2 separate regions of the Homo sapiens genome follow, and region 2 is linked to region 1. The links are contacts of gene promoters, found by promoter capture Hi-C in blood cells and fetal thymus (Javierre and others, 2016). All regions are on one chromosome and are shown on one strand. The core of a region is centred on a gene start or on the middle of the fragment in contact, and the rest is flanking DNA. Distances in the headings are between cores, read along the strand shown. Region 1 holds the start of NOTO (notochord homeobox). Region 2 overlaps SFXN5 (sideroflexin 5).

What was found. The method cuts DNA at HindIII sites, captures the fragments that hold promoters and counts their contacts. A CHiCAGO score of 5 or more calls a contact.
Region 2: a fragment that was not itself captured here is called in contact with the fragment with the promoter of NOTO in region 1 in 2 of 17 cell types (naive CD8 T cells and total B cells); the score reaches 5.8 in naive CD8 T cells.

The regions. Positions count from the first base shown.
Region 1 is chr2:73,199,617-73,205,788 of GRCh38, reverse strand. It overlaps NOTO (notochord homeobox), which reads right to left and starts at 3,215. Exons shown (of 3, transcript NM_001134462.2): 1 at 2,741-3,215. The coding sequence starts at 3,122. RefSeq lists an enhancer at 1,821-2,372. The HindIII fragment of the contact is 10,291 bases long and covers 1-5,802 here.
Region 2 is chr2:72,982,364-72,988,535 of GRCh38, reverse strand. It overlaps SFXN5 (sideroflexin 5), which reads left to right. Exons shown (of 14, transcript NM_144579.3): 10 at 188-278. Among named protein-coding and RNA genes, the nearest start is that of EMX1, 68 kb to the right of the region's middle. RefSeq lists an enhancer at 5,547-6,047. The HindIII fragment of the contact is 2,518 bases long and covers 2,569-5,086 here.

The sequences.
Region 1 (6,172 bases), core at 1,966-4,465:
TAGCGCATGCCTGTGGTCCCTGCTACTCAGGAAGCTAAGGAGGAGTGCTTAAGCCTGGAACATTGAGGCTGCAGTGAGCCGTGATCGCACCACTGCACTCCAGCATGAGTGACAGAGAACCTGTCTCAAAAAAGAAAAAAAAAAGGATTTGTAAAAACACATCAAACATAAAAATTAAAATTTTTTCTATGTAACAAAAGAATACCGCCATAATCAAAGTCAAAGGCCAATACACAGAAAAACATTTGTAGTTCATTACAGTTAAAGGGCTAATTTCTTTTTTAATTTTTTGAGACAGTGTCTTGTTCTGTTGCCCAGGCTGGAGTTCAGTGGCTTGACCTCGGCTCACTGCAACCTCTGCCTCCCAGGCACAAGCAATCCTCCCACTTCAGCCCCCGCCAAGGTGCGCACCACCATGCCCAGCTAATTTTTGTGTTTTTAGTAGAGACGGGGTTTTGCCATGTTGCCCAGGCTGGTCTCAACTCCTGAGCTGAAGTAGTCCACCCGCCTTGGCCTCCCAAAGTGAGGGAGTTACAGGGGTGAGCCACTGCACCCAGCCAGGGCTAATTTCCTCAATAGAAAAGAGCATCTACAAATAGATTGTTTTAAATAACCAACTATACATATGGGCAAAATACAAGAACAGTAGTTCACAGAAAAAGAAATACATCACGAGGTCAGGAGATCAAGACCATCCTGGCTAACATGGTGAAACCCCGTCTCTACTAAAAATACAAAAAATTAGCCAGGTGTGGCGGCATGTGCCTGCAGTACCAGCTACTCGGGAGGCTGAGGCAGGAGAATGGCGTGAACCCGGGAGGCGGAGCTTGCAGTGAGCCGAGATTGCACCACTGCACTCCAGCCTAAGGACAGAGCAAGACTCCGCCTCAAAAAAAAAAAATAAAAAAATAAAAAAAATTAGCCGGGCATGGTGCTGGGGCTTGTAATTCCAGCCACTCCAGAGGCTAAGGCAGGAGAATCACTTGAGACCGGAAGGAGGAGGTTGTAGTGAGCAGAGATAGCGCCACTGCACTCCAGCCTGGGAGACAGAGTGAGACTCCGTCTCAAAACAAAACAAAACAGAACAAAAGAAAACAACTAACTTGAAAATGAGGCAACTGTAACATGAAGTAGTAAACTGTAATTCAGACCTCAGGTGTGTGAAGAGCTCAGAGAAAGGTGACTGGGAGTGATGGGCACAGCTCCCAGATCCAGTGGTATTGAATTTAGATGGGGCTGCGAGTCCAAGGGTTAATGCACTGCTGAAATGGGGTGAGGAAATGCAGGATTGGGGTGGGTGCCACGGAGTAGGAACCCGGCAAGACTGTGTTACAACTATCTTTGTATGGGTTGATAAGGCTTGGACTAACTTTGCTCCTGTTTTCTTCGTGGGGACATGGGGAAACATGAACCTGGCAACCAAAAATGGCAAAAGCACGTGTAGGTGGATGTTTAATGCTAGAAGGCAAAGTTCCCTCTATAGTTACTTTTTTTTGTTGATTTGTTTGTTTGAGACGGAGTCTCACTCTGTTGCCCAGGCTAGAGTGCAGTGGCGCAATCTCGGCTTAATGCAACCTCAACCTCCCGGGTTCAAGTGATTCTCCTGCTTTAGCCTCCTGAGTAGCTGGGATTACAAGCGCGCGCCACCACGCCCTCCTAATTTTTTGTCTTTTTTTTTTTTTTTTTTTTTGAGACGGAGTTTCGCTCTGTCGCCCAGGCTGGAGTGCAGTGGCGCGATCTCGACTCACTGCAAGCTCCGCCTCCCGGGTTCACGCCATTCTCCTGCCTCAGCCTCCTGTGTAGCTGGGACTACAGGCACGCGCCACCATGCCCGGCTAATTTTTGTATTTTTAGTAGAGACGGGGTTTCACCGTGTTAGCCAGGATGGTCTCGATCTCCTGACCTCGTGATCCGCCCGTCTCGGCCTCCCAAAGTGCTGGGATTACAGGCGTGAGCCACCGCGCCCGGCCAATTTTTTGTCTTTTAAGTAAAGATGTGGTTTCACCATGTTGGCCAGGCTGGCCTTGAACTCCTGACTTCAGGTGATCCACCCGCCTCGGTCTTCCAAAGTGCTGAAATTACAGGCGTGAGCCACCGCGCCCAACCTTACAATTACTTTCTCATGAGATTTAAGTGCCTGGCCCTTAAGCACTACTTAAGAGCATTGCATGCACGCAGGCTCAGAGCGAAGTGTGTAGCTCAAGTTCACAGACGTGAGCAGTGGAGGCGGTAGTGGGGTGTGAGCCTTGACCAGCTCCTAACAGCTCCTCGCTCAACAGCACCGCCCGGAGCGTCCACTTCCCCCTACCCCGTAAAAAAAAAAAACAGGGCCATTGGTTCGGGTCGAGAGCCGCTTTGGGAAGCGTCTCTGTCACTAAGCGCTACCCCGGGGTGTGCGAGGGAGTCAAGGGACGCGGAGACCGGGAGCAGGGCTGGGTCCCCTTGCAGCCCCAGCGCTGGCCTCCTGCCCACCGCATTCAGGCGCTGCGCCGCCCTCACACCCACCCTCTCCCACCTCAGCAGCGTGCGGGGGAAGCCTCGCGCCGGGGTCTTTTTCAGCAAGACTGTCGCGGTCCTCGGCTTCAACTGCAAGGTAAACGGTGGCAGAGCCCCTTCCCACTCCAGCCGTGTGTGATTCTCACACTCAGTGCCCTCTCCTGCACTGGGGCGCCGGCAGTGGCGACCTAGGCTCTCCAGCCCCCGCCCAGTCCCCCGCGTGCGGGCGCCGGGACCGCAGTACCTGTGACGCCGAAGCCCAGCAGGCCGCAGACGGGAGCCACGCGCGGCCCTGGCACAGGGTAAAAACCTACGCTCAGGTAGGCGGGCAGCCACGATGTCGGGCAAGCCCAGGGCAGACCCCCGGTGGCGCACAGGGAAGCAGCGGTCCAGAAGGCCGGGTGGACGCAGGCGGAGCCCGACGGCTGGGAGGCCGCCGGCGCGCAGGGGTCGGGCCTCGCCAGGATGGCCTCGACCGAGAAAGGGGACTCGAAGCGTCCGGGAGCGCGGGGCGTGTTCGGGCCAGTAGGGGACCTGGGCGCCGGAGAGCGGCCAGAGCGCGGAGGTCGGACCCGAGAGCCCGAGGGAGCGGGTGGCGGGCTGCCTCGCGGCCTGGGGCTAGGCATGACGCGGCCGTTGCCCGGACGGACGCAAGGAAGGGAGCTCGGGAGAAGTGAGAAGATTCTGCAAAAGGCAGCGAGCAAGACCGGTTGTCTGGGAACCTCCTGGCGCTCGGCGAAGGCTCTTAAATTTGGCGGGGCGGGGCATGGGGCGGCCTCTCCCCACTGCGGTCCGGGCGGGGCCCCCAAAGCCTGTGAGCGCCCGCTCTGTGCGAGGCAAGGTGGGCACAGCACCAAAGAGTGTGTTCCCTCCCTTCCTCCGCTTTTAAAAATGCCCACCCTGGGGCGGTCGTGGGGAGGACTCTGAGCTCGCTGGTGATCCTGGGCGAAACACCCAGCCACCGGGCTCCGTCTTTCTCCTTTGCTCACTGAAGAAGGGATGCCCGTTTCCCCGGGGCCTTGCAGAGGCGGAGCTGTGATCTGGAGAGCGGTAGGGCAGTGCCTGCGGTCTTGGCCTCAGCTGACCCGCGCCGTCCTTGACGCAGAAGCCTCGGCCAGATTCACCTAGGACCGCGCGGACTTTTTGTTTGTTTGTTTTAAAATGTAAATATTTTATTTATAAGCACAGTGATAAGTACATTTTCCATCTGGCCTCAGCCCTTTAGTTTCCCTGCCTTGAGATGCGCTGTGATTACCAATTTCGTTCTTTCTTTAATATTTTTTTTGGCCAGGTGCAGTGGCTCATGCCTGGCATCCCAGTACTTGTGTGGGAGGCCGAGGCGGGAGGATCGCTTGAGCTCAGGATTTGATTTGATTTGATTTGAGTTGATTTAGGGGTAAAAGATATGGCCACTATGTCTCTAACCTTGGACTTTTAGTATATAATTCTGTGTTTCCATACATAATTATCAGTTTTCTGTTGTGTCATTTATTCCTTCTTCAGACTGTAAATTCCTGAGCATAAGCATTAATATCTCCAATTTACATATTAGTAAATACAGCAAGAGAGGTTAACAGAACTGCCTTGTTTCAAATCCCCTAGGTATGTGGTTTTAATTTGCATTTATTTCCCTGAAGACCGTTCATTGTGAGCATCTTTTTACATGCTTATCAGCCACTTGGATATCCTCTTTTGTGTGAAGTGCCTGTTCAACTGGTTTGCTTATTTTTGTATTGGGTCACTATGTTTTTCTTATTGTAAGAGTTTTATGTATAGATAATTTGGAATCAAGTCCTTCGTTGTAATATACATAGAAGCAGATAACCTCTGTCACTCTGTGGCCTGCCTTTTCATTCTTTTAGTAGTCCTTTTTTTTTTTTTTTCTGAGATGGAGTTGCCCAGGCTAGAGTGCAGTGGCACAATCTTGGCTCACTGCAACCTTTGCCTCCCAGGTTCCAGCGATTTTCCTGCTTCAGTAGCTGGGATTACAGGCATGTGCCACCACACCCAGCTAATTTTTGTTAAGTATACCAAAAATAAAGCCAAACGAATAACAGACTTTATTTTTATTCATTTATTTATTTATTTAGAGATGGAGTTTCACTCTTGTTGCCCAGGCTGGAGTGCAATGGCACTCGGCTCACTGCAACCTCTGCCTCCTGGGTTCAAGCGATTCTCCTGCCCCAGCCTCCTGAGTAGCTGGGATTACAGGCACCCGCCACCATGCCCAGCTAATTTTTTGTATTTTTAGTAGAGATGGGGTTTCACCATGTTGTCCAGGCTGGTCTTGAACTCCTGACCTCAGGTGATCCACCCGCCTTGGCCTCCCAAAGTGCTGGGATTACAGGCGTAAGCCACCGCACCCAGCCCTACAACAGACTTTAAAAAGACCACTGAGATGGGTTAGTACATGAACTAGGCACTTTATAAAAGGAAATATCTGAATAGCTTAAAACCATATGTGGCTGGGCGCGGTGGCCCATGCCTGTAATCCCAGCACTTTGGGAGGCCAAGGCGGGCAGATCACTTGAGGTCAGGAGTTTGAGACCAGCCTGGCTAACATGGTGAAACCCCATCTCTACTAAAAATACAAAAACTAGCTGGGTGTTGTGGTGGGTGCCTGTAATCTCAGCTACTCGGAGGCTGAGGCAGGAGAATTGCTTGAACCTGGGAGGCGGAGGTTGCAGTGAGCCAAGACTGCACCACTGCACTCCAGCCTGGGCGAAAGAGCGAGACTCTGTCTCAAAAAAAAAAAAAGTATGAAACATACTGAACTCTGTGAGTCATCAGGGAAATGCAAATTCAAATCACATCGTGATCCACTATACACGCACCAGAAGATGGAAAATACCAAGGGCTGGCTGGGCACGGTGGCTCACACCTGTAAATCCCAGCACTTTAGGAGGCCAAGGCAGGTGTGAGGCTGAGGCGGGTGGATCACTTGAGGTCAGGAGTTCGAGACCAGCCTGACCAACATCGTGAAACCCCATCTCTACTAAAAATACAAAATTAGCCAGGTGTGGTGGTGCACACCTATAATCCCAGCTACCTGGGAGGCTGAGTCAGGAGAATCGCTTGAGCCTGGGAGGCGGAGGTTGTAGTGAGCCATTGCACTCCAGCCTGGGCAACAAGAGCAAAACTCTGTCTCAAAAAAAAAAAAAAAAAGAAAAAGAAAAAGAAAAAGAAAAAGAAAATACCGAGGGTTGATGATAATATGAAGCATCTGGAACTCTTATCCACTGAGTGTGGGCATATAAATTGGTAGAAACACTTTCGAAAAATGGATAAGCAGTATTTACTTAAGCTTAACCCTCTGATCCAGCAGTTCCTATCCTAGGTATAGTGTATACCCAACACAAATATACATATGTGTTTAACAAGAGACATGTTTCAGAATGTTCACAGCAGCATTATTTGCAATAGCCCCAAATCAGAAACTACCAGAATGTCTACCAACAGTAGAATAAAGTTGCGCCACTGCACTCCAGCCTGGGTGACAGAGTGAGACTCTTGTCTCAAAAAAATAAAAAAATAAAAAAACAAGGCAAACTTATCTATGCTACTAGAAGTCAGGAGAATGCTTGGGGGTGGTTAATGAGTGGCAAAGGGCATGACGGGAACTTCTGTGGTGGTAGCAGTGTTCTATTTATTTTCTTTTTTTTTGAGATTGAATTTC
Region 2 (6,172 bases), core at 2,578-5,077, 220 kb after region 1:
GTACTTTAAGCAGCGACGCTGGAGCTCTGCAACCTCAGGTGACGCTGAGGATTAGGGGTGTGAGGTGCAGTTGTGGGGAAAGATGACATCCCTCACTCTCTGATGTTCCTCCAGTTCTGCCCCCTCCTCCCACAAGCCACTGCAGCATCATGTACTTTTTCTGTGTTTTTATTTTTTTCTTTCAAAGGTGGGCCTTAATGTCCTGGTTCAGAAAGCCAACAAGTTCACCCCAGCCACCCGCCTTCTCATCCAGAGGTTTGTGCCGTTCCCTGCTGTAGGTAAGACCTGCACACCACATAGATGTGTGCTGTGGGTGGGTGTGGGGGACCGCTGGGCTCCCAGGGAGACAGATGACCCTTCCACACCTCTCCTGATGCCCAGGGGGCACCCAGCTGGGAGAATTGGTGTAATATGTTTAGCTAAAAGACAAGACCATGGGGTCCCACTGACCAGCTCTGTGCTGAGATTCTGCTTTCAGCATAGGGGTTCTTAGGCTGCAGTCCCAGACCCCCAAGGGGTCAGTAGACAGAATGCAGCGGATCCTGTGAGCTTGGTCAGGGAAAAGATTTACATTAACCTCTAACTGCATTTTAACATTTCCTTCCGTTACGAATGCAGGCAGCAAACCACAGTCAGAAGCAGGACCTGTGACTTTGTCACCAGTAGAAATCACAGATGTTTTCATGGCACATTACAGTTGTTACAGAGGTCTTAAAATATTATTTATGCTCAACACTAATTCATATTTTCTTTCTTTTTTCTTTTTCTTTGTTTTTCTTTGAGTCAGAGTTTCACTCTTGTCACTCAGGCTGGAGTATGGTGGTGCAATCTCGGCTCACTGCAACCTCCACCTCCCAGCTTCAAGCAATTCTCCTGCCTCAGGCTCCCAAGTAGCTGGGATTACAGGCATGCGCCACCATGCCCATCTAATTTTGCATTTTTAGTAGAGATGGGGTTTCACCATGTTGGCCAGGCTGGTCTCGAACTCCTAACCTCATGATCCACCTGCCTCACCCTCCCAAAGTGCTGGGATTACAGACGTGAGCCACCATGCCCGGTCACTAATTCATATTTAATACATCAACTGATAGATCTTGTTTTTAATTCATTAGTTAAAAAGCACATCTAGGCTGGGTGTGGTAGCTCATGCCTGTAATCCCAGCACTTTGGGAGGCCGAGGTAGGCGGATCATGAGGTCAGGAGATCAAGACCATCCTTGCCAACATGGTGAAACCCCATCTCTACTAAACATAGAAAAATTAGCTGGGTGTGGTGGTGCATGCCTGTAATCCCAGCTACTCAGGCCGAGGCAGGAGAATGGCTTGAACCAGGGAGTTGGAGGTTGCAGTGAGCCAAGATCACGCACTCCAGCCTGGTGACAGAGTGAGACTCCGTCTCAAAAACAAAACAAAACAAAAAAAACCCCAAAAAACATCTATTACTATATCACAATATTTTGGTAATTTCAGGATGATCCCTTTGTGATCCTATGTGTTTTGTTTTATGCATTTAGAAACATTATTCTGAGAGGGGTCCATAGGCCTCACTAGACTACCAGAGTGGTTCGTGGTACAAAAGAAGCCTGCAAGCTTCTGCTAGTCTAGGTTTCAAGCCTTTGGGTATTGTGAGCCTCTAGGTTTCAGAGGCCTTGGCTCTACGCAGGTGATTGTGGGCGCACAGGTATATGTGGAGGGGATTTCAGCTGCGTCTTTGCTGAACTTGGAGTCTATGAGCTCACCATAGATGCCCCAGGCTGGGGCCCTGGAGATGCCACAAAACTCTGCTTGGCCCTTAAGAAGCCTACACCTTGTTTGGGGAGAAGGGCAAAATAGTGGAAGGAGTTTTTAAAACTAAAAAGAAATAAACAGTATTGAGAGCAGTGTAAGGCAGTGCATAGCTGTCAAAAGAGAAGGATAAACCAGTCCTTGAACCATAACAGCAGAGCTCCCCATCTGTGCCAAAGGACAACGATGGGGACAGGCCAGCACAGGGCATGAGGACTCGTGACCTCTGTGGTACCAAGGCACCATCTGAAGAGCTGGAGTCAGACCCAGGCTCATGGTCCTGACCCTGATCGTCATCTACAGGGCCCTGCTTCTCCATCTGTAAAAGGCGGGTACCAGTACCCACCTTCCTACAGCCCAGAGCTCTGGGAGGAGCAAGTGAGGCCACAAACCAGTTTCCACTGAGAGGAGGGTGCTTTGAAGCACCTGCAAAGCCCTGTGAGAGGGTGAGAGGTCATTGCTGGGCAGCCCCACCTCTGGATGACCCAGAGACTAATGAATTCCGAGAACCAGCCACCTGGCTCAGCCTCAGCCAGCCCAGATAATTGCTATAGCAACTCCACACTTTTAATGAACTTTCAGCTATTTCTGTCGTGGGCCATTAATGGAATAACCCTTTAGATCTGACTTCGTTAAGGGGCCTAATAAAGCAAACACGGCTGCCCAACTGGTGTTCCCGGCCATTCAGCTGCAGGGTCAGATGCAGCCTGAGAAGGGGCAGCGCTCTGCTGCACTGGGCTGGATCTGGGATTCGGCCAAGATGTAATCTGTCCCTAGCCAAGCTTTAGATAAGAACTTTGCCGGGGGCCCATTCCAGCCCTACTGGCCATCTTGCTGTGTCACCTTGAGGTGGTCTTAACCTCTCTGGGACTCTTTCAGGAGGAGAGTCCCTGCTTTGGGTCTGAGACTTTCTGACCTGCCCCTCTTCAGACTCCAGTGTAATTCCCCTCCCCTCTTCTTTTTGGGAATGAGGCTTCAGCCGCTCACACAGGTGCAGCCACTGTTGTCTTGAGATCCTGAACATCCCTCACGGGTTGCATAATGTGGTTTAAGCCCTGACAGTCCTTGCTTGCGGGATCCAGGGAGAGGCAGGCCCTTTGTGGCTTCTTCCTCTGGCCTGGCTGCTGAGTCCTGGCTGGGTACCTGCCTGCCTTCTGCCCCAGCCCCAGTCTCCCCTCCCACCCCCCCACAGGCTTCCATCTCTCTAGTCCCTATGTCCATCGCTCTCATCTGCAAGTGGACACTTGCGGACTGCCCTAGTCCATGCTGACACAGTTTTGAGATGATTAGGTGTGGCCCTTTCCCACCAGGGACTCAAAAGCCCCCTGGTCCTCTCAGGCCACCGTCCAGTCCCTGTACTTGGCCTCTCTTCACCTTATCCCCAGGTACCCCTGGCCAGAGTATCCCTAAGCTGCACCAGGTGCTGGCAGGGCCTAGGTCCTGCCCGGGGTTCACTGCAGGTCTCCGAGGTAGGCTAGGCCAGACCTGGCTGGGCCACTGTTAAAGGTGACCAAGAAGCTGGCTCAGGCTGTGCTTGACCTTGTGGAGGGTCCCCTGTCCCTTTAGGCTGCTTGCAGAGACAGGACTCACTGAGCAGTGACTGCACATGGGAAGGAGGTTGGGGAAAGTGGCAGTGATCATATTTAAGCTCTGTTGTTGGGATGTGAGTGGAGTGGAAGGGGGTCTTCAGGGTGATGGGGGTCCTGAAGAGGCTTGTGCCCTGTGGTCAGAGGCCGCATCCAGGCTCTCACACTTCTGAGCAGGTTGGGAACTCAAGCTCTGGGGAACAAGGAATCCCCAAGAGTCAGTTTCTTCTTCCCAAGGCTCTGCCAGCTCCTCTGCAGGCCCCAGCCTGAAGCCTGGGAGGTGGGCTACACACTGCCTAAGAGTGGCCTGAGACACACGCACCTGGACCCCACACCAAACTCCACCATTCCCACCCCATTCTACCCGCTGTCTCCTCATCTGGAAACGAGGCCTCTGACGAGACCCTCCTTCAGCCCCTTCCCACCAGGACCTCTGTGACTGCAGGCCTCCTTGAGGTTTGCAGAGCTCCTGGGGGCTGCACGGCTCCCCTCATATTCCCTAGCAAGCCTCTCTCCTCCCTCGGTTCTCCTCATTCTGTGCTGGGAGGGTCCGAAGGCAGAGCAAGCCATCACCCTCTTACAGAAGAATGAACAAAGTCAGACTTGCTAAAAGTGATACTGAGCTGGCCAGAGCCCAGGCCTCCCAGGCCTCCCAGGCCCAGCCCAGGGCTATTTCAAGCCCTGTGAGATAACCCCTCACCCATATAGCTGAGAAACTGAGCAGTGTGGCCTGGAGGCAGCCAAGGCTACGCGGTGTCCTCCCTGTTCTGCCTCCAAGTTCCCCCCTAGTTTTTCAGAGTGTGTGTGTGCACACGCCTGTGTCACGTGACTGATGCATGTGCAGGCACATGTGCTGAGTATGTGGGAAGCCCTGGGATGCTCACTGCAGCCATTTCTCTCCCCTTGGAGAGAGGTGGTTTCAGGGCCATGCTGTGTCCCTGGTCTAGAACAGCAATCGTGTGGGAGATCTCAGTTTCTATTTATACATGGAGATGTTAGGAAAGACAGTGAGCCCAGGAGCATGTGTGCTGGCATCGGAATCGATTGGGGACTGGTAATTAATTTGCTTAGACCTTAATTAATTCTCCAGTTCTTTCTTATTTGTGGACTGTCACGCCTAATTGTGTTCAGGAGCTCAAGCTCGGAGCGGGCCCTCCGTTAATTGACGTATGGTTGCTGCCAGGTGAAGTTAATGGTTTGGGAAGCTGGGCAAACAGTGTAATTAAAGGTCAGTAGAGGAGGCATTGGAAAAATACACACCCCCAGCTCTAGCCACCAGTCTCTGTGAGCAGAGTCTGTTCCAGGGGTTGCCGGCCCCACAGGCTTCTCAAGGGGCCTTGGAGGAGGGGTACCAGGAGCAGTTACCAGCAGGAAGGAGGGCCAAGTCCTGGGTCCCAGAGGTGGCAGTGGCCAGGGGAATAGACATCTCGTTGACAGCAATGGGTGGGGCAGGGGCCTTAGGGAGGTGGAGACAGAGGTGTTGTCTCAGCAAGCACATCTATAAAGCTGGCCCTCTGGACTCCGGGTAGGTGTGTGCATGGGGAGGGCAGGAAGCCCTGAAGGTCACCCCAGGCTGCCTGGCTGCATCCACTCAGAGCAGGGAACAGGCAGTGAGTGTCATGTGCTCATCAAGACCCCCAGCTAGGCCCTGAGCTCCTCATGAGGAAGGCCTGAGCTTTGGCATCAGCCAGCTGCTCCTTCCAAGGAGAACAAGCTTCCTGCAGGCACCGGAAATGCCAGCCTCAGCAGCTCCTTGCTGAGAAATGACTTCTTCCTGTGCCGTCCCCAGCAGTCTCCTATGTTAAATGTCAGGATTTATTTTATTGCCATGAAAAGATCTCGGTGTTAACCAATGAGTCCGTTGCCCAGGGTGTCCTGGCACTATTTGGGAGAAGGTCTTCTGTTCATTCACAGGTGTGGCAAACCTGTTCCCTGACGTCCATGCCCCCTTCTCCCCAAGGCCACACGGGTCTTCATGTCATTGAACCCCTCTTTGCTCCACTGCTCCCCCTTTGTGCTCAGTCCACCCTGCTTCCTCCGTCTAGGAGTGGCCATGGCAGTGCTGCCCAAGTCTGGAGGGCCTACCCCCAGGTCAGAGCACAGCTCCCCAGGCCTCATCCCCTGTGAGCAGGAGGCAGCAGTGTGCACCTGTGGCAGCTTGTCCTGGGCCCTGTGACATCAAGGTCCATCCATCAAGGTCAGTGGTGCTTCACGTGGCATTCATGCCCTTCAGGCACCTCTGGATGCCATGAGTCCCTTCTTTGACCTGGCCTGCTCTTGCCTCTCCTGTGCCCCACTGCAGCCCTGGAGAACGCTGCCGTCCTCCTCTCCTCCCTCTTGCCGGGCCCCAGGCCTTTGCATGTGGCCCTGATGTCTGGATACCTGCTCTTCCCACTACCTCAAGCACCCTCTGCCCTCCCTCGACTACCAGGCCTTTGTGACTCTGCTCAAACACCATCTCCTCTTGGAAGCCCTCGCTGGGAGTCCCAGCCAGGGTTAGATGGCAGCTACCTGTGTGTGCCGATGTCTATCTGGGGACTGCCCGTGTTGTTTCCAAGCCTGCCTCCCCCATTAGACATTGAGTGCCCCAAGGCAGGGACTGGATCTCATCTACCACCACACTCAGCCCCCTCGGTGCCTGGCACACAGTCAGTGCTCAATGTGGGTTTATTCAATGATCAAATGAGTGCTTTGGCACAAAAGGTTTGAGATGAGTCACTCGTGGCAGAACCTCACCCTGATGACAGTGGTGGCCAGATTCTGTAGCTACCTGGACATTTATTCTGGACCTTTTCCACTTTT